Linked DNA regions of Homo sapiens: regions 1, 2, 4, 5, 6 and 7 are each linked to region 3. Evidence: promoter capture Hi-C in 16 types of primary human blood cells and fetal thymus (Javierre and others, 2016). All regions are on one chromosome and are shown on one strand. The core of a region is centred on a gene start or on the middle of the fragment in contact, and the rest is flanking DNA. Distances in the headings are between cores, read along the strand shown.

The links. The method cuts DNA at HindIII sites, captures the fragments that hold promoters and counts their contacts. A CHiCAGO score of 5 or more calls a contact.
Region 1: a contact is called between a fragment that was not itself captured here and the fragment with the promoter of RAB3GAP1 in region 3, in 1 of 17 cell types (monocytes). The highest score is 5.3, in monocytes.
Region 2: a contact is called between a fragment that was not itself captured here and the fragment with the promoter of RAB3GAP1 in region 3, in 2 of 17 cell types (monocytes and naive CD8 T cells). The highest score is 7.2, in monocytes.
Region 4: a fragment that was not itself captured here is called in contact with the fragment with the promoter of RAB3GAP1 in region 3 in 2 of 17 cell types (total CD8 T cells and naive CD8 T cells); the score reaches 6.2 in total CD8 T cells.
Region 5: a contact is called between a fragment that was not itself captured here and the fragment with the promoter of RAB3GAP1 in region 3, in 10 of 17 cell types (naive CD8 T cells, total CD4 T cells, fetal thymus and 7 more). The highest score is 7.9, in naive CD8 T cells.
Region 6: a contact is called between a fragment that was not itself captured here and the fragment with the promoter of RAB3GAP1 in region 3, in 4 of 17 cell types (total CD4 T cells, naive CD4 T cells, erythroblasts and 1 more). The highest score is 6.3, in total CD4 T cells.
Region 7: the fragment with the promoter of DARS1-AS1 here is called in contact with the fragment with the promoter of RAB3GAP1 in region 3 in 1 of 17 cell types (naive CD8 T cells); the score reaches 5.9 in naive CD8 T cells.

Annotation. Positions count from the first base shown.
Region 1 is chr2:135,879,952-135,882,651 of GRCh38, reverse strand. No RefSeq gene overlaps it. Among named protein-coding and RNA genes, the nearest start is that of MCM6, 4.9 kb to the right of the region's middle. The HindIII fragment of the contact is 3,748 bases long and covers 1-2,700 here.
Region 2 is chr2:135,793,755-135,796,454 of GRCh38, reverse strand. LCT (lactase) reads left to right here. Exons shown (of 17, transcript NM_002299.4): 14 at 1,680-1,814. Among named protein-coding and RNA genes, the nearest start is that of LCT-AS1, 25 kb to the left of the region's middle. The HindIII fragment of the contact is 5,560 bases long and covers 1-2,700 here.
Region 3 is chr2:135,050,895-135,053,594 of GRCh38, reverse strand. RAB3GAP1 (RAB3 GTPase activating protein catalytic subunit 1) reads right to left here and starts at 1,303. Exons shown (of 24, transcript NM_012233.3): 1 at 1,270-1,303; 2 at 1,110-1,165. The coding sequence starts at 1,287. RefSeq lists an enhancer at 591-730. The HindIII fragment of the contact is 10,130 bases long and covers 1-2,700 here.
Region 4 is chr2:135,822,016-135,824,715 of GRCh38, reverse strand. It overlaps LCT (lactase), which reads left to right. Exons shown (of 17, transcript NM_002299.4): 4 at 713-815; 5 at 2,618-2,696. LCT-AS1 (LCT antisense RNA 1) reads right to left here. Exons shown (of 2, transcript NR_045486.1): 2 at 1,629-2,700. Among named protein-coding and RNA genes, the nearest start is that of LCT-AS1, 3.2 kb to the right of the region's middle. The HindIII fragment of the contact is 2,076 bases long and covers 388-2,463 here.
Region 5 is chr2:135,772,857-135,775,556 of GRCh38, reverse strand. All of the region lies in intron 9 of UBXN4 (UBX domain protein 4), which reads right to left. Among named protein-coding and RNA genes, the nearest start is that of UBXN4, 32 kb to the right of the region's middle. The HindIII fragment of the contact is 6,305 bases long and covers 1-2,700 here.
Region 6 is chr2:135,860,737-135,863,436 of GRCh38, reverse strand. MCM6 (minichromosome maintenance complex component 6) reads left to right here. Exons shown (of 17, transcript NM_005915.6): 8 at 689-830. Among named protein-coding and RNA genes, the nearest start is that of MCM6, 14 kb to the left of the region's middle. The HindIII fragment of the contact is 8,903 bases long and covers 1-2,700 here.
Region 7 is chr2:135,983,896-135,986,595 of GRCh38, reverse strand. DARS1-AS1 (DARS1 antisense RNA 1) reads right to left here and starts at 1,420. Exons shown (of 4, transcript NR_110199.1): 1 at 1,080-1,420. DARS1 (aspartyl-tRNA synthetase 1) reads left to right here and starts at 970. Exons shown (of 16, transcript NM_001349.4): 1 at 970-1,193. The coding sequence starts at 1,128. RefSeq lists an enhancer at 1,124-1,223 and a silencer at 1,274-1,333. The HindIII fragment of the contact is 7,953 bases long and covers 1-2,700 here.

The sequences.
Region 1 (2,700 bases), core at 161-2,660, 830 kb before region 3:
TCAGTGGGGACGACGGAGAAGCCTGAGAGCCACAGAGGGCAAGAGTCATCAATGAGCGACTCAGAGCCCATATGGAGCTGAATGACAGACAAGTGAACCTGGGAGGATCTTAAGGGGGACATAAAAGCATTTTATGGTAGCTATAAAACAAGAGTAAATTTGTATGCAGCTTCATATTTCTTAATTTATAATATAATGTAAAGTATATTTAAAATGATAGGTTATTATGAATTGAGGAGTATATGAAAGTTAAAAGTGAGTGTATTAGCCAGGTTCTCCAGAGAGCAGAACTAATAGGAGGGGGGGGGGGGCAGATTTATTATGAGGAACTGGCTCATGCAATTAGGAGACTGGGAAATCCTATGAGCTGGCATCTGCAAGCTGGAAACCCAGGAAAGCTGGTAGGTAGTTCAGTCTCAACCTGAAGGGCTGAAAACCAGGGGAGACAACGGTGTAAATCTTATCTGAAGGCATACGATGAGACAAGATGTCCCAGTTCAGGCAGTAAGGCAGGGAAAAGAGGGCAAACTCCTCTTTCCTCTGTCTTTTGTTCCATTCAGGCCCTTAACTGACTGGATGGTGCCCACCCACACTGGGCAGGCCAATCTATTATACAGATTCTGTCTATTCAAATGCTAATCTCCTCCAGAAACCCCTCAAAGACACAAGCAGAAATAATATTTAATCTGGGCAGCCCATGACCCACTCAAGTTGGCACATAAAATTAACTCTGTGTGTGTGTGTGTGTGTGTGTGTGTGTGTGTGTGTGTGTGTGTATGGAATTCTGGTGTTCAGCTTTTGGAAAAACTAAGAATCATATAAAAATAACTAAAAATTGCCATTATTTGAACTTATTTTGTTAGACATCATAGTTGAACTTATTTTGTTAGATATCAAGATCAAACTTTGCTTATTTAAGTAATTAGGAAGAAAGTCATACTGCTAAAAACTGGTTAGCAGCTAGCATACATTTGTTGTTGTTGTTGTTAATAAGAAGTAGAACGGGCTGGGCACAATGGCTCATGCCTATAATCCCAGCACTTTGGGAGGCTGAGGCAAGAGTATAGCTTGAGCCCAGGAGTTTGAGACCAGTCTGGGCAACATGGTGAAACCCCATCTCTGCAAAAAATACAAAAATTAGCTGAGTATGGTGGTGCACACCTGTAGTCCCAGCTACTTGTGAGGCTGAGGTGGGAGGATCACCTGAGCCCAGGAGGTTAAGGCTGCAGTGAGCTGTGATTGTGCCACTGCACTCCAGCCTGGGTGACAGAGTGAGATGCTGTCTCAAAAAATTAAATAAATAAATAAAAAAGAAGTAAAATATACCAAATATTTTATAAGATGAGGGTTGACTGCATTGAAAGAAAATATTTCATAATATGAGAAATATCTTATTGAATATTGCACACCACCCACAACAAATCATGTAACTTTTTAATCTGCTGGTTTTATTTAGTGTAAGTTGAAGTGTCAGTGATTCTGGAAAATATTACAGTTATATTTAAAATAATAAGCATCACTAACCTGCACTGCTACAGCTGTTTGAAGGATGTTTCCTTCCCAGCTAAAAACATGTCTCAGGAAAAAGAACCCTTATGTTTTAGAAAATCATTCTGAAATATCTACAAATGAAAAGATACAATGTTTTGCTTCAAAATCATAAGGTAATGGTAAGAAACCGTATACTTTACCTCTGTGATCATCCTTCCCTAACCCATAATCACTGTCTAATCATGAGAAAAACGTTAGACAAATCCCAACTGAGAGACATTGGCATTAAAACTATGGAAAGTCTGAGAAGCTGTTACAAACCAGAAGAGTCTAAGAAGACATGACCACTAAGTGTAATGTGGCATCAGGATGAGATCTGGGAAGAGAAAAAGAACAGTAGGGAAAAACTGGTGAAATCTGAATAAATTGTGCAATATTAGTTAATACTAACATACTAAAGTTGGTTCCTGAGTTGTAATAAATGTATTATAAGAGTGTAAGATATTCACAGTAAAGGAAAATAGGCAAGGTGTATTTGAAAATTCTGTACTATCTTTTGCAACTTTTGGTAAATCCAAAGCTATTCTAAAATAATTTTTTAAAAAGAATCATGGATGGCTGGGCATGGTGTCTCACACCTGTAATCCCAGTACTTTGGGAGGATTGCCCAAACCCAGGAGTTCAAGACTGACCTGGGTGACATGAGGAAATCTTGTCTCTTCAAAAAATATAAAAATTAGCCAGGCATGGTGGTGCACATCGTGGGAGGCTGACGTGGGAGGATCACTTGAGCCCAGGAGGTCATGGCTGCAGTGAGCCATGATTGTGTCACTGCACTCCAGCCTGGGTGACACAGCAAGACCCTGTCTCAAAAAAAAAAAAAAAAAAGGCCCCAGTGTGGTGGCTCACACCTGTGATCCCAGCACTTTGGGAGGCCAAGGCAAGAGGATCGCTTGAGCCCAGGAGTTCGAGGCCAGCCTGGGCAACACAGCCAAACCTCGTCTCTACAAAAAATACAAAAATTAGCCAGGCGTGGTGGCATGTACCTACTTGGAAGGCTGAGGCAGGAGGATCGCTTGATCCCAAGAAGTCGAGGCTGCAATGAGCCGTGATTGTGTCACTGCACTCCCGCCTGAGTGACACAGCAAGACCCTGTCTTTAAAAAAAAAAAAAAAAAAATTTTAGACTTCCAGGTATTCAGCATAAATC
Region 2 (2,700 bases), core at 85-2,584, 740 kb before region 3:
GCAGTGAAGGGGCTGAGGCCACATGGTGGAGGGCCTGGAAGCCAAGCACAGGGCCTTGGCTTTGGTGCCACAGGCCATTGCTGGCTTCTGAGCAGAAGCGTCAGGGACAGGAGGAGGCTGTGCTTTGGTTTTCTCCCATCATCTCAGAAACCCCAGGGAAGGAAGGTTCTTGATCCCTCAGGTTAATGGTAGCAGAAAGGTCAAGATGAAAGTGTCAGAGGCCTCAGCAGGGCATCTCTGGGCCACACCTAAACCAGAAGCCCCAGGTCTCCCTGTGGGCATGCGCATGCATTCAGGATCACCTGTACATGCTGCACACAAGTGTATTAGTCAGGTTCTACAGGAGAGGCTTTTCACTCAGAGTGCCTGGAAAATGCTCCATCTACAGGTTAAGAAGCCAAAGTTCCCAGGCTCACAAGTAATCTCAGCACTTTGGGAGGCTGAGGCAGGAGGATTGCTTGAGACCAGGAGTTCAAGACCAGCCTGGGCAATATAGTGAGACTTTGTCTTTACAAAAAATTTAAAAATTATCTAGGCATGGTGACGCACACCTATATTCCCAACTACTTGGGAGGCTGAGGTGAGAGGATTGCTTGAGCCCAGGAGACTGAGGTTGCAGTGAGCTATGATTGCACCACTGCACTCCAGCCTCAGGGGGCGTGCAGTGTCCTCAGGAGGACAGGGCGAGACCCTGTCTGGGAAAAAAAAAAGGAAGAAAGAAAACAAAGTTCAGTGAAATCGTGAGAACTGAGAAATTCAAACTCAAATACTCAATTTGCAAATTATTTCCCCTGCTACTTTGAAGATCTTGAAGCTATTATTATTATTATTATTATTATTATTATTATTAGAGTTGGAGAAAAGAGGCATGCCTAAACAAACCCCAAGAGGAGCAGAGAAACTTGGAAAGGGCAGAAAACGGAAATACAAATTACACAAGATACAGGGCCGGGTGTGGTGGCTCATGCCTGTAATCCCAACACTTTAGGAGGCTGAGGTGGGCGGATCACTTGAGGTCAGGAGTTCAAGACCAGCCTGGCCAACATGGTGAAACCCCATCTCTACCAAAAATATAAAAAATCAGCCAGGAGTTGTGGCAGGCGCTTGTAGTCCCAGCTACTTGGGAGGCTGAGGCAGGAGAATCACTTGAACCCAGGAGGCGGAGGTTGCAGTGAGCTGAGATCGCGCCACTGCACTCCAGCCTAGGTGACAGAGCCAGACTCAGCCACAAAAAAAAAAAATTATACAAGATCTAACTTTACAAACATAGGGGAAGAGTCTCAGATATGTACCTCAGGCATGCTCTTGATTTTGAAATCTGTCATAGATGCTAAATATCAGAATTTGCATATGTTGTTTGAAGGAAATTAAAAACTGTTTATGCATGTGTGTGTGTGTGTGTGTGTGTGCGCGCGCGCGCGTGGGTGCGTGTGTGTGTGGTCCTTCAGGTTTCAGAGGCTCTTGTAGAGACCTAGGGAAGCCAGGTTTATGGTCTGGCTGGAGGAGCCGCAGTGCTTCCTGCACCGCCTGAAGGACCTCTTCTCCTTCCCTGCCAGTTTCCCCTACTCACTGCCAAGTGCCTGGGGTTCGGAGAGCTCCCCCGCCCCAGCCCTATGACGTTCTCTTCTCAAAGCATGGCTCTCCCTGAAGCCCTGCCCTCAATGGCTTCTTCCACCCAGGCTGCCAGAATTTACAGAGAGTGAGAAGAGGAGGATCAACGGCACCTATGACTTTTTTGGGTTCAATCACTACACCACTGTCCTCGCCTACAACCTCAACTATGCCACTGCCATCTCTTCTTTTGATGCAGACAGGTAAGTCCACCAACAGGGAGCCCGGAGCCATCTCTGGAAAAGGCAGAAAGGTGCCCTTGGCTGTGCTCTCTGAGGCCTGCCCAGCCTCAAAACAGGGCCTCCAACGCCGAATGTGCCGGGGTTTGCAAGATGCTCGCCACCCCACAGATCCCAAGGAAATCTCCAGCAAGCAAGAGGGAGAGAAGGCCGGGGTCTCCAGGGCACCTCCCATTAGGGCACATGTGCTTGGCTTTTTGTTTTTTTATTTCATTTTTAAAATTTATTTATTTTGCGTTCTTTTTCACAGGCTGCTTAACTCTAAAAATGCTTGGTTGTTAAAAAGGATTTTCAAGAAAAAAATTGTTTAGGTTTTATCAAAATTCGCTTTAATATTAATAAATATTACAATAATACAAGAGTAAAATTTTATTTTCTCTTTTTAAACAATGCTTTTATGAAGTAGAGATAGTAAAAGATTTTGGTTCACCTTTTAAGTAACAGTTTTTATTTTATTTATTTTTTTTGAGACAGAGTCTCGCTCTGTCACCAGGCTGGAGTGCAGTGGCACAATCTTGGCTCACTGCAACCTCCACCACCCGGGTTCCAGTGATTCCCCTGCCTCAGCCTCCAAGTAGCTGGGATTACAGGCGCGTACCTCCACGCCTGGCTAATTTTTTTTTTTTTTTTTTTGTATTTTAGCAGAGACGGGGTTTCATCATGTTGGCCAGAATGGTCTCGGCTAATTTTGTGTTTTTAGTAGAGACAGGGTTTCTCCATGTTGGTCAGGCTGGTCTCTATCTCCTGACCTCAGATGATCCCCTTGCCTTGGCCTCCCAAAGTGCTGGGATTACAGGTGTGAGCCACTGCGCCCAGCCGATTGTCTTTTTCTTTATGATATCTATTTATC
Region 3 (2,700 bases), core at 54-2,553:
TGCCACCTAATGACACGACATCCACAAATTTCCTCTCCCAACCAGAAAGATTATAAAATGCTGTAACAGCGTAAACACTGACTTCAACACCCAGGAAACTGAAGGGTTTCTGTGACACTTAACAGAAACCTTCTCGATCTAAGCTATCACTCCTCCACAAACTTGGCTTTCAACTAATTTCAGTAATAGAACAGTTTCACCCAGACAGCTGTTCATCTGAATTTGACAGGCACAGGAAGCCTGGGCACAGTACCCACTTTAATGTAACAACTTAAATCAAAGCATTCCAAAACCATATGCAGACTTTTTAAAAAGGTTATTCTAAAAGACAGGATGGGCGGAGGCTCACGCCTGTAATCTCAGCACTTTGGGCGGCCCAGGCTTGAGCCCAGGAGTTCAAGACTAGCCTGGGCAACACAGCGAGATCTTTAAAAAATTAGTTGGGCGTAATAGCGCGTGCCTGTGGTCCCAGCTCCTCCCGAGGCTAAAGCGGGAGCTTCACTTGAGCCTAGGAGTTCGAGGCCGCAGTAAGCTATGACCTCGCCACTGCACTCCGGCCTGGGCGGACAGACTGAGACTCTGTCTCCAAAAATAAATAAAAATAAAAAATTAAAGACAGCATGGAGATGGTGGGAGTGTGACAGATGGACAACTACCAATACTCTGAAGAAAGACTTCCTCCTGAAAAGGGTATACCAACGTACACGGGATGAGGTGCGGCACAACCTACCAAGTTTACTGCTTACGATAATGAGTTAAACGGTAATGAAAACCGGAACGGTTGTTGCAGCCTCGGAAATTTTTCTTGCGAGTGGGTAACAACCAGAAAACCAAAGTCTAAGGGAAGCGGTCTGACAGGAGAGAAAACAAAACTTTCTGAGAGCCTGAGCCTCAGGGATTGGCTGACGGGGGCGGGCCGGGTGTTGCCAGACGCGAGACGCGGAAGAGGCTTGCGGTTGACCAAAGAAGACTGGGGGAGGAGACCCGGGACCCACGGTATTACCGTTCCCGCACAAGTGGCGTCACTTGTGGTGTGTCTGGGGTCAGGGAAGCGGCTAGGGGACGCCAGGGCCCATGGGAGCTGGTAACCAAAAATGCGATTCACTCACCTTTCCCATTCCGAGGCAGTGGTGAAGTCCGTGATCTCAAATACCTCGGATTCGGGCTGCGGGAAGGGGAAGGAGAGAAAAAGAAATTAAGCCCCAAGGCGAAGACATGAGGAACGAATTTAGATAGTGACAAGGATTAAGTAGGGAGCAAAGAAATCACCTCACTGTCGGCAGCCATCTTGAGGAGCGCCGGGCCTGGCGCTAAGGCTGCCGGGAAGAAGAGCGAAAGAGAACGGGGCGCGTCCCCGCCCCCGGAGCCCCCGCCCCCTGTTCATGAGTCTTGCCCTAGTAAGTAGGAGTGCTGCTTCTTCGCCCAGGTCTGTTAAGTCTTTAGTCCGCCCTCAGCTGGTTAATAAAACTCCGCTCTAGCTGGTTTCATAAAACTTGAAAATTTCCTGTGATGAATACAGAAAGGGAACAGAAGCCAAGGTGATAGGACAAGACCCTAAACTCATGTGGATAAGATTGTATTAAAAAACCTAAAGCATGTTGGGTTTGTTTTCATTCAACCCATATTTGTAGTTAGTACCAATTAGCTTACACTTTAACTATTGGGTTTCTTTTCATTCACCCTCTATTTATTGATTGTAAGGCAATAAACTAGGTGCTGTAATACCACTTCTACCCTCTGCCCCTGACCCTGCAAGAAGTTGCTCAGTTGATTGTCCTGAAATAAAATCATACTAGTTACCTGGTTTCTGGGAAGAGCAACATGGTGTTCAACAAACGCTTCATTTTTTTTTTTTTTTTTTTTTTTTTTTTTTTTTTTTTGAGACGGAGTCTTGCTCTGTCGCCCAGGCTGGAGTGCAGTGGCACGATCTTGGCTCACTGCAAGCTCCGCCTCCCGGGTTCACGCCATTCTCCTGCCTCAGCCTCCCGAGTAGCCGGGACCACAGGCGCTCGCCACCACGCCCGGCTAATTTTTTGTATTTTTAGTAGAGATGAGGTTTCATCGTGTTAGCCAGGATGGTCTCGATCTCCTGACCTCATGATCTGCCCACCTCGGTTCTGTCGCCAGGCTGGAGTGCAGTGGCGCGATTTCGGCTCACTGCAATCTCTGCCTCCTGGGTTCAAGTGATTCTCATGCCTCAGCCTCCCGAGTAGCTGGGATTACAGGCATGCGCCACAACACCCAGCTAATTTTTGTATTTTTGGTAGAGATGGGGTTTCACCATGTTGGCCAGGATGGTCCCGATCTCCTGACCTTGTGATCCGCCCCCCTCGGCCTCCCAAAGTGCTGGGATTACAGGTGTGAGCCACTGTGCCTGGCCTTGTCTTTATTTTAACACCTTCAAGTTATTTATATATATTCTGCATCTGAGCTTTATATTGTTTATATATGTAGCAAATACCTTCTCCCACTCTGCAGCTTGCTTTTTCACTATTTTTTTTTCAGACTGGTGCTCTAAAAAAGCAGACACTACAATTCCAAGCTGGCGAAGTCTCTGAAGTCCAACTGGAAGTGCTAGGGCAAAAATTATGCATCAGGAAATGCGTAGCCCCTTGTACTACTGCCTTGCTCCGTCAATCATTGGCCAGGATCTCCCCAAGAAAACAGTGGCCTTGGCTATCACTGTTTGCTCAGTTTTTG
Region 4 (2,700 bases), core at 176-2,675, 770 kb before region 3:
CTGTAACTTTTTGTTTTGGAAAATTTCTAACATCCAAAAGTAAAAAGAATGATGAACCCCTACGAAGCCATCTCCAGCTGCAAGAGCTATTATTGGCTCATAGCTAATCTTCTTTCACCTAACCTATAACTTCTATCTCCCAAACTAGATTTTTAATTAAAAAAAATTTTTTTTAGAGACAGGATCTTGCTCTGTCACCCAGGCTGGAGTGCAGTGGTGCAATCATAGCTCACTGCAGCCTTAAACTCCTGGGCTCAAGCGATCCTCCTGGCTCAGCCTCCCAAGTAGCTGGAACTACAGGCATGCACCACCACACCCAGCTAACCAAACTGGATTATTTTGAAGCAAATCCCAGACATCCATAGATGGTGGCCTCTTAACTAAGCTTCTTAAGTAGCACAGGCTCTGGATGTGAGCAGTGGCCTTGTTCCTGATCCTAACACCGTGCCTGGCTCTAAGAGGTGCCCTGTAAGCCTGTGATGAAAGAAGAGGTGAAGGTGGGGGTTGGTGGGGAGGGTAGACTATGTTATTGAAAATTGTAGATCTTTCTCCTTCAGAGTCTAGAGTTGACTCCTTTAATTAACTGAGATACTTAGAGGTCATTTCCAAAGCCAGAGTAAGTGCCACAGCTTCTCATCTTGAAACTCTGTCCCTGTTATCAAGATGCTTTCCAGGAGGCTTCAGTTCACTTGCTGGTCCTTCTCTTTTTCAGACCATTGAGCCAAAAGTGAAAGTTTTCATCTTCAACCTAAAACTCCCAGACTGCCCCTCCACCATGAAGAACCCAGCCAGTCTGCTCTTCAGCCTTTTTGAAGGTGAGTGGGCCATTGCTGAAGAGGTTTTGAGTGACATCTGGTGCACTGGTGTGCTAGGTAGCAGTCTTGAAAGTCCGGGGTTCCAATGGGAGGAGGAGCATGGGAGGAAGACTAGTATAAAAGCCCACCCCAGACTGGGTTAGTGTACTATGCCTTCCTACTGATGGTCCCTTGCAACCATCCCCCATTGACCCAAGAAAGAGGAGAGGTTCGACACAAGGATGCCTCTTATGGACATAAAGATAGTTAGGCCTCAGCTGTGAGTTGTAAGCATGGAAAATCATCTTTGCCTCCTTTTATTACCTCTCCCTCCAAGGTCTCTCATCTCTGCTCCTCTTGGCAGGGCTTTCCTCTGCCCGTCTCTCTCCAGCCAGCCCTCTCCACTTACCCTTGTTCCATGTCCCCATTATCTCAGTTTGCACATGGCCCTGGTGGGTACCTGACCAAGATGCTAAGAACTTTCAAGTGTAGGACTCACAGCTCAAGGGCCATCTTCCTAGTGTCTCTTAGTTCAAATTCTTGAAAGTGAATCTGATTGTTGGCCATGGATCAGGAGGCTGCTTCTGGTCCAATCAAGTCAGGGGAAAGGTGGGGTCTATGATAGCATTGAGGCTGGCAGTCACTGGAGACTCTGCAAGAAGGGAGGAAGGGGCAGAGAGGAATGTGCCTGAGGGCCCTGATATTCACTCTTGTCTGTCTGTCACTCTTGTCCATAGGCCAGAGTATGGGAGAAGTCAGTAGTGTTCTTTCTACCACTGTGTCTTAGTCTGTCTTGTGTTGCTATAATAGAATACTCTAGACTGCGTAATTTATAGAGAAAAAAGGTTTATTTAGCTCATGGTTCTGGGGACTGGGAAGTTCAAGATCAGGCAGCCACATCTGGTCAGCTTCTGGTGAGGGCCTCATGCTGCATCCTAACCTGGCAGAGAAGTGGAAGGGGAAGGAAGTGCCTGCAAACAGATAAAACACCAGAAGCAGCCTCACTTTATAACAACCACTGTATGGTAACTAATCCAGTCCCACTAGAATGGGAACTCACTCACTCCCTGGAGACTGCACTAATCCCTGAAGGCGGATCCCTCATGACCCAAATGCCTCTTAAAAGTCCATAACCTCTCAATAATGTTACACTGGCAATTAAATTTCAACATGAGTTTTTGTAGGGACAAACCACATCCAAACCATAGCACACCTGGACCCCATCCCAGCAATGGGTTGGCTCCACAGGGCCCCTGAAGTTTATCCATAGATACCATTTAATAATGCTTATCTGAACTCACCTTTGATGGCATAACAATTTCTGTTCTTAGATCCCACCTCTCTCTAAGTGGTTAAAATTGTACCTTTTCTGTTTATGCGTATTTTACCACAATTTTAAAAATATTCCACCCCTTTCTGATCTTTGAGTTCTTCTAAATCAATTGTTCCCAAAGTTGTGGTCCCCAGACCAGCAGCATCAACATTAGCATCACCTGGGAGCTCATTAGAAATGCATATTCTTGAGCCCTACTTGAGACCTACTGCATCAGACACTCTTGGGGTGGGACCAGCAACCTGTGTTTTAACAAGCTCTACAGATGATTTTGATTCACCTTGAAGTTTGAGAACCACTTTTAAGTAATAAGTAAGTAGAATTCACTTCTAAGCTTTTAAAGTCGTTAGCCCATGGTATTTTCCAAAGGGGCTTGGAACCACTGCTTGGAGTTTGGGTGTGTCGTATGAGCGAGGAAAACTGTTGATTTCAGACTTGCATGTTCTTAGTTGGCATTTACATAGAGTTAATTCAATTTCTTCTCTTACAGCCATAAATAAAGACCAAGTGCTCACCATTGGGTTTGATATTAATGAGTTTCTGAGTTGTTCATCAAGTTCCAAGAAAAGGTAA
Region 5 (2,700 bases), core at 19-2,518, 720 kb before region 3:
ATCATACAGTATGTGACCTTTGTAACTTGCTTTTTTCATGGAAATTGTATTTTCAAGGTTCATCCATGTTGTTGCAGGTATCAGTTCTTATTCCTATTGCTGAAAAACATTGTTGTATGAGATACAGTTTACACATTCTTCAGTTGCTGGACATTTGGGTTATTACCACATTTTAGCTATTTTGACTAATGCTGCTATACTCATGTACAGGTTTTTGTGTTGACGTTTTCAATTCTCTTGGATATAAACTGCTGTATAAACTGCTGCTGTAGAACTCCTGGGTCCTATGATAACACTATGTTTAACATTTTGCGTTACTGGCAAACTGTTTTCCAAGGTGGCTACATCATTTTACAATCCCACCAGTAACACAGAAAGGTTCCAAATTCTCCACATCCTCACAAACACTTATTACTTTCTCTTTACATTTAGGCATACTTAGTGGGTGTGAAATGGTATCTCATTGTGGTTCTGACTTGATTTCCCTAATGACTAATGATGTTGAACATCTTTTCATGTGCTTACTGGCCATTTGTTTATCTTCTTTGGAGAAATGTCTATTCAAATCCTTTCCACATATTTGAACTGGGTGTCTTTATAATTGAGTCACAGGTTCTTTTTATATTCTAGACACAAGTCTCTCATCAAATATATGATTTGCAAATATTTTCTCCAATTCTATGGGTTGTTCTTTGCATTTTTTTTTTTTTTTGAGACAGAGTCCCACTCTGTCGCCCAGGCTGGAGTGCAGTGGCGCAATCTCGGTTCACTACAACCTCCGCCTCCCTGGTTCAAGCGATTCTCATGCTTCAGCCTCCTGAGTAGCTGGGATTACTGGTGTGCACCACCATGCCTAGTTAATTTTTGTATTTTTAGTAGGGACGGTTTTTTGCCACGTTGGCGAGGCTGGTTTTGAACTCCTGGCCGTAAGTGATCCGCCTGCCTCAGTCTTCCAAAGTGCTGGGATTATAGGTGTGAGCTACCATGCCCAGCTTCTTTGCACTTTCTTGATGATATCCTTCAAAGCACGAAAGTTTTAAATTTTGGAAGTGCGATTTACCTATTTTTAAATTTTGTTCCTGTGCTTTTAGTGCCATGTCTAACAATCCATTGGCTACTCCTAGATCACAAAAATATATTCCTCTTTTTTCCTCTAAGAATATATATTTTATAGTTTTACTTTTTGGTAGATGATCCATTAAGTTAATTTTGTACATGGTGTGAGGTAAAGGTCCAAATTCATTATTTTGCATGTAGATATTCAGTTGTCCAAGCACCTTTTGTTGAAAAGATTCTTCTTTCCCACTGAATAGTCTTGGTACCCTTTTCAAAAATAAACAGTTCATAAATGTAAGGGTTTATTTCTAGAGACTCCATTCTATTACAATGACCTGTATGTTCATCTTATACCATTACATCACTGTATAGCTTTGCAGTAAGTTTGAAAATCAGGAAGTATGAGTCATCTATCTTCATTTTCCAGTTTGTTTTAACTATTGTGTTTCTTGCATTTCCATATGAATTTTAGGTTTATAATTTATGGAAAAAAGCCAGCTGGAATTTTGATAGGAGTGTTGAATCTATAGATCAGTTAGATCAGTTTAGGGAGGATTATCATCTTAACAATGTTAAGTATTCTTATCCATGAACATAGGATACTTTCCAGGTATTTAGGTCTTAAATCTTTCAACAATGTTTTGTCATTTTTAGCACACAAATCTTACATTTTTGTTAAATTTATTACTTCATTATTTTTGGAAAATTATTTTTAAAAATTTTTCTGATTACAAAATACTACTTGTTAACTGTCCAATATGGAAATATGAAAAGGCACAGAGAAGACAATAAGTATTAACCATAATCCAATTAGCAAGGTGTACTAGAAATCTAAACTTTTTTTGTCTTTTCAACATATTTTTGTTTTGGGAACTGCCTTCTTACCCTGCTATGTGTCATTCGTTCTGGTATAATTATCAATAACATTTCCCCCACCTCCTTCACCACAAGATTGGGCATGTCACCTCCTCCAACCAGAGGGCCCACACATGTGGACACTGACTACTCTGAAGGTGGCCACATGATCCAAACAGGGGCAGTCAGAATTCTCAGTGACTGATACAGGCATGAGAGAGAAAAGGTTAATCTCTTCTGTCTGGGATCGTGAATTCAAGGTCCTGAAAGTGCCAGGAGGTGCTGGGCTCTCCTGACACCATTTGGAGAGTTTCTCTAAGAATGAAGCTAAAACAGAAGAAACCAAGAATTAAAAAGAGAGAGAGAAATTGTAATGGTATCCTTTAGATTGCTGGACACAGCTATGCCTAACCAAATTCACCCTTGGATTTCTGAACTGCAGAGCCAATGTATTTCCTCTTTTGCTTAATCCTATCGGATAGGGGATTCTGAAAAATAAAGAATCCTAATACGTATGAGATAAACATTATATTCATTTGGTTACAAATCATTTCTGTCTTTGGAAAACAGGTATTTATTGGGCCCTCTTTTTTTTTTTTTTTTTTTTTGGGGACGGAGTCTCGCTCTGTCGCCCAGGCTGGAGTGCAGTGGCGCAATCTCGGCTCACTGCAAGCTCCGCCTCCCGGGTTCACGCCATTCTCCTGCCTCAGCCTCCCGCGTAGCTGGGACTACAGGCGCCCGCCACCATGCCCAGCTAATTTTTGTATTTTTAGTAGAGACGGGGTTTCA
Region 6 (2,700 bases), core at 66-2,565, 810 kb before region 3:
CACACCCAGCCTAATTTTCTGCTTTAAGGAATGCCTTGTGTAACTTTGCATAGCACTTTGTTGATGGAGTTCAGAGAGTCGACAGTTCCACAGAAAAATGTTTCTTTTAATAGCACAGTGTTCTTTTTTAAGAAAATTGTTTTTCCTTCTTATTGGATTTATGAACTAAGCAGCTGTAAATTGCATTCAGCATCTTATTTAATCCACATGAATTCAGTTAACATATATTTATTCAGTGCTGGTCACTGTAGGTGATAGAAAAGTGTTATGAACCATTTCCTCAAACTCTTCACAGAACTATAAGAACTGGCATTAAAAAGGACTAGCAAATGTGGTAGGCCTTGGTGGACATAGTTCATTTATCAGGAGAGATCTTTGAGGGCTAAGGCATTGGGTAAGGTTTTGTGTAGGAAGTAGGACTCATGGACAAGTAAAGGCTCTTAGGATGGTGAGCACTGGCACGGTGACATCTGTGGTGTAGGAGAAAACATTGGAACAGTGGTTTAGGTGACTAAGTCCACAGAACAAGAACCAAGATCGGAAGCCAGGTGTTATTACTCCAGTTTTATGCTTTGCTTTAGCTGACTCTGCCTTTCGGTTGGTAAACATGCCTTTACTGTTTCTTCTGAAAGTGTTTAACTTCATGTTGAAAAATTAGTTTTTCATCTGTAGCTTCTTTTCATTTCAGGCAATGATGAAGTAAAACGGGGTGTCCTGCTGATGCTCTTTGGTGGCGTTCCAAAGACAACAGGAGAAGGGACCTCTCTTCGAGGGGACATAAATGTTTGCATTGTTGGTGACCCAAGTACAGCTAAGAGCCAATTTCTCAAGTAAGCGTTTGCCTGATACAGTGTTGCAGGAAAAAGTGTACATAGTTCCCAGGCTGGCTGTGCTACCAAGAATGCAGTCAGTATGGCCTTACTAGGAGTGTAAATTATGACTATGTTGAATATATAATTCTCATAGATTAAAGTTATGGCAACATTGTACAATTTTTTAGAATAGGGAAAAATTGCCTGTAATACCAATCTCACATTGAACTGTTTAGTCTTTGTATAATATCTTTGTAAAATATATTTGTATAAAATTTTATACAAATTTTATTATTTGTATAAAATTTTATACAAATTTTATTATTTGTATAAAATTTTATACAAATTTTATTATTTGTATAAAAATATGAATTATGTATTTTCATTATTGTAAATCATATTATACATACTTGTAATTTCAATTTTCTATAAACATTTTTTCCATGTTTCTTTTCGCATGGAAAAATCTCATGAGTTTGTCATTTTCACAATTGTCTTTTTTTGTTGGTATACTATAGCTTACAAAATCATTTTCTTAGCCCTGTTAAATTTAACAGGATAGTTTATTATAATAATTACCGATATAGATGCAGTGAACATCATAATGTTATATACATTTTTTGTTTGTTTCCTCTGGGTAAATTGCTAGATACAGGATTGTTGAGACTAAGAATACAAACATTTGTAAGGTTTTAAAATAGGATGTACTGGCCGGGTGCCATGGCTCACGCCTGTAATCCCAGCACTTTGGGAAATCAAGGCGGGCGGATCATGAGGTCAGGAGATGGAGACCATCCTGGCTAACACGGTGAAACCCCGTCTCTACTAAAAATACAAAAAATTAGCCAGGTGTGGTGGCGGGCGCCTGTATACAGTCCCAGCTACTTGGGAGGCTGAGGCAGGAGAATGGCGTGAACCCAGGAGGCGGAGCTTGCAGTGAGCCGAGATTGCGCCACTGCACTCCATCCTGGGCAACAGAGCAAGACTCCGTCTCAAAAAAAATAAAAATAAAATAGGATGTACTTTCCAAAGGGAATGCTGCTATGAGATATTTTATGTTAACTTTGTCAGTGTGAACACAATTTTTGACTGTTTTTAGAAGCTATAATAAATATTTGATTACTTTCAAACTTTTAAGAAACTTAGGGCCCAAAATAAAAGCAACAAGTTTCTGAGCACCTGCCATGTTCTCAGTGCTGTATATGTGTTATGTCTTACTCTAGCAGCACCCAGACAGGCATGTGTATTATTCCCTTTTTTTTTCAGAGAGTCACAACCTCTCCAAGCCTACAAGAAATTTGCCCACTTTCTTGTAGGTGAAAGGTGACACCGAGCCATGAATATTAAAATTCAGATACAGTTGCCTGCAAAACATGTGTACTTCATACTACATCAAGCTGCCTTTTCTTTGTTTTGGAAATTTGTAGCATAGTACCATTTTAGAATATTGAACATTTTTAGTTGGTTTGGAGTTTTATGATTAAATATTTCTTTTGAACATATCACAGACTGAGTTTTAGATTTTAAGATAGTAGTCCTGTGTTACAAAGGATTCTTTTTTTTTTCTTGTCATTCTTTCTCCCCCCTCAAAAAGAAAGATGTACTACAATGTTGCCTCTGGTAACAGTGTCATGTGGTATGTGACAGTCTTAGTGGATTCCATAGCATTTTCTATGTATAAAATCTGTATATAATGATAGTCGGAGTATCCCATCTGGCTGCCTTTTTTTCTTGCCTAATTGTCCTTGATTAGAGCCATCAGTATAATGTTGAATAGAAGTGGCAAGAGCAGACATCCATGTCTTATTCCTGATCTTAGGGGCAAAACATTCAGCCTTTCACCTTTAAGTTTGATGTTATCTGTGGGTTTTCATAGATGCCCTTTGTC
Region 7 (2,700 bases), core at 171-2,670, 930 kb before region 3:
CAGCACCTGATAGAATGCCTGGCACAAAGTAGATGTTTGTAAATAATCTTTGATCAATTAAATAGGGAATAAAATTTCATACCACCTGCAATTAGAAGGAAAGCTACAGGCAAGCAAGGACCATGGCTGTCTTCTCACTACTCCATGGGGGAGCCTCCAGAGAGAGCCTTTCACTTGCGCTGGGATCTATGTGCACCCCTTAACACTTTGTGCCAGACTAAGACACTACCAAGTCAGTTGAAACGACGGAGTGCAAACTCTGGCAGGGGAAACAGTATTAAACCAAATCTCCAAATTATTTTCAATTTCGATTCAAAACTCATGAATGATAGCTTTTTTAAAAAATCAGTTTTTTAAAAAAGCCTAACTTGGGGATATTCGCCCATTGGGCAACCAACACTATGCACTGTCCCTAACACTGCAACAGATCCAGGCAATCAATGCAATTGTATGCGTTTCTTGTTGTCGTTGCCACTGTATTTACACCTCACTTACACAGGGACTGGTAACCCATGCTGCCTTGGCAAGCCAACTGCACTCCTCTGTCCCAACAAGCAGGGCAATGGATTGCGAAGAGGCCTCCTCCGTCCCCAAGCAGCTACGTCGCCCAGGGGAAGAGAGAAGGCGGGAAAGTCCAAGAGAGGAGAAACCAAGGCCCGCGCTTAGGTGGGTGTTTTAGTGACGAGTCTGCGGTTACAGCCGAGCGGAGTTGAAAGGGCTGTTAGAAGAATGGAGCAGAAGTCGCAGTTGGGACGAAGCTGAAGAGAGCTGGCATTCGCCCAGGTCTACAGCCAGCCACCTGGTAACCCCTGCCCCCGCCCCCAGAGCCAATCCAGCGAAACTACCGCGAATTCCCGGGAATTCCCTCCAACTCCGGGAAAACTCCCGGAGGGGCGGGGCAAGAGTGGGAGGAGACCCTGCGCGCGGCCGCCAGCGCTCCGGGATCTCGAGATAGCCGCAGCTCTCGCGATCTTTCTGGAGCCGCACCTCCACGCGGAGTCCGAGCGCGTGTGCTGAGACCCCAGGGTCGGGAGGGCGGAGACTGGGAGGGAGGGAGAAGCCCCTTTGGCCTGCCTTACGGAAGCCTGCGAGGGAGGGTGGTGTCCACTGCCCAGTTCCGTGTCCCGATGCCCAGCGCCAGCGCCAGCCGCAAGAGTCAGGAGAAGCCGCGGGAGATCATGGACGCGGCGGAAGTGGGTTTCCTCCTTTCCTGGGCCTGGGAGGACAGACCCCTGGGCCGGGCTGCGCCGAGGGAGGGAGGAGGGGGAGTGGGGCCCTACAGGTCCTTGTCGGCACGTTCTCCGCAGGCTGCGGGCGTGGGGTCCGGGCGCCTAGAGCCCTTGCCCCAGCAGTGGGGCCAGACCCTCTCCGGACCGCGTTTCTTGCGGGGGTCACCTGGGAGTTTGGCCTACTAGAAGCGTGTCCCCGGGGTGGGGAGGACGGGAAGAACCAGCCGCCCCGGAAGTAGGAGCGCGGCGTCACACTTGAGTCTCTCTGGGTTAGGCACGTCCTGCACGTAATGCACAATCCCTGGGAAAATTTTAATAAGCACTAGTAATCGATATGTACTCAGCCCTCGTGTTCCTAATGCTTTAGCAAGTAATGACAGTACTTAGCAAAACCATCTGCCAATATGTTTAATGACCATTTCCCATGTGACAGCTTTAAAGAACACATGTCATTTTTATTTACTTTCTCCCTCTCAGTGACCCGGTAAGGTAGGTAATAGGAGTTACCGAGAATGCATTTGAGGTGAAGTGACCCCAAATCACGTGGATAATTCATAACACCCAGTGATCCTTCGGTGCTTTTCAGAAATCAAAGTTTGAAACCATCCTACAAGTTATGTGTGCTGTAGTACTGTTAAGCCTTAATTTCCGTCTGGCTCCCTAATTTTTCTATAAGGAGTTCTGAGTTTGTGGTAAGCAACATGAGAAGTAAGGTCATCTTAGAATACTAAATGAGGAAGAGTCACTGAAATATTAATAGTACTAATTATGAATGCAACTTTTTTGTCCTTCACACAATTTAATCTCCTTCTGTTGCCCTCAGGCTTCATTGTGTGACTGTATCTCTCTACTCTGGCCAGGGTTATCTTTTTCTTTAAATTGTTCAGTAAGCGCCTTAAACATGTCTGGTTTTATTTTGGTGTAAACACAAAATCCAGCACCCTCCTGCTCTAAAGGAGAGGATTCCAACAGGTAGCTGTAAAGTGACAGAAACTTAATTGTTTCATACAGATCTTAAGTTACCTTGTAAAAACTAGGGCAATTATTTTTGTGTACTCTTAATCTGCTTAATTACATAAACTATCAGTGTACCCTTACAGATAGTATAGGTCTAGATACAAGGTAGACATTGTGGCAGAGTTATGCCATTTTATAGCTAGAAGAATCTTAGATCATTTTAGAGGTAAAGTAAGATTGAAATAAAGGCCACTTATCTATTTAATAAGTATATTTTGTTAACAGATTGGACCCTAGGTCTTCTGTTTCCTGTTCCTAACTCTAATCTGTAACAAGAAATTTGATATTATTATATTGTCAGTGTCAAACTCCTGTAACCTGGTATCCTGAATCTGGTTTTTAGAAACAGGAAGCTGGTGAATTTTTTGATGATGTTTTACAAAAGGAAAGTTGTAGTTAGCTTATACCCAGCATCTCCAGTTTCTAAAAACTGTGGACATCTGGTGCTCAGAAA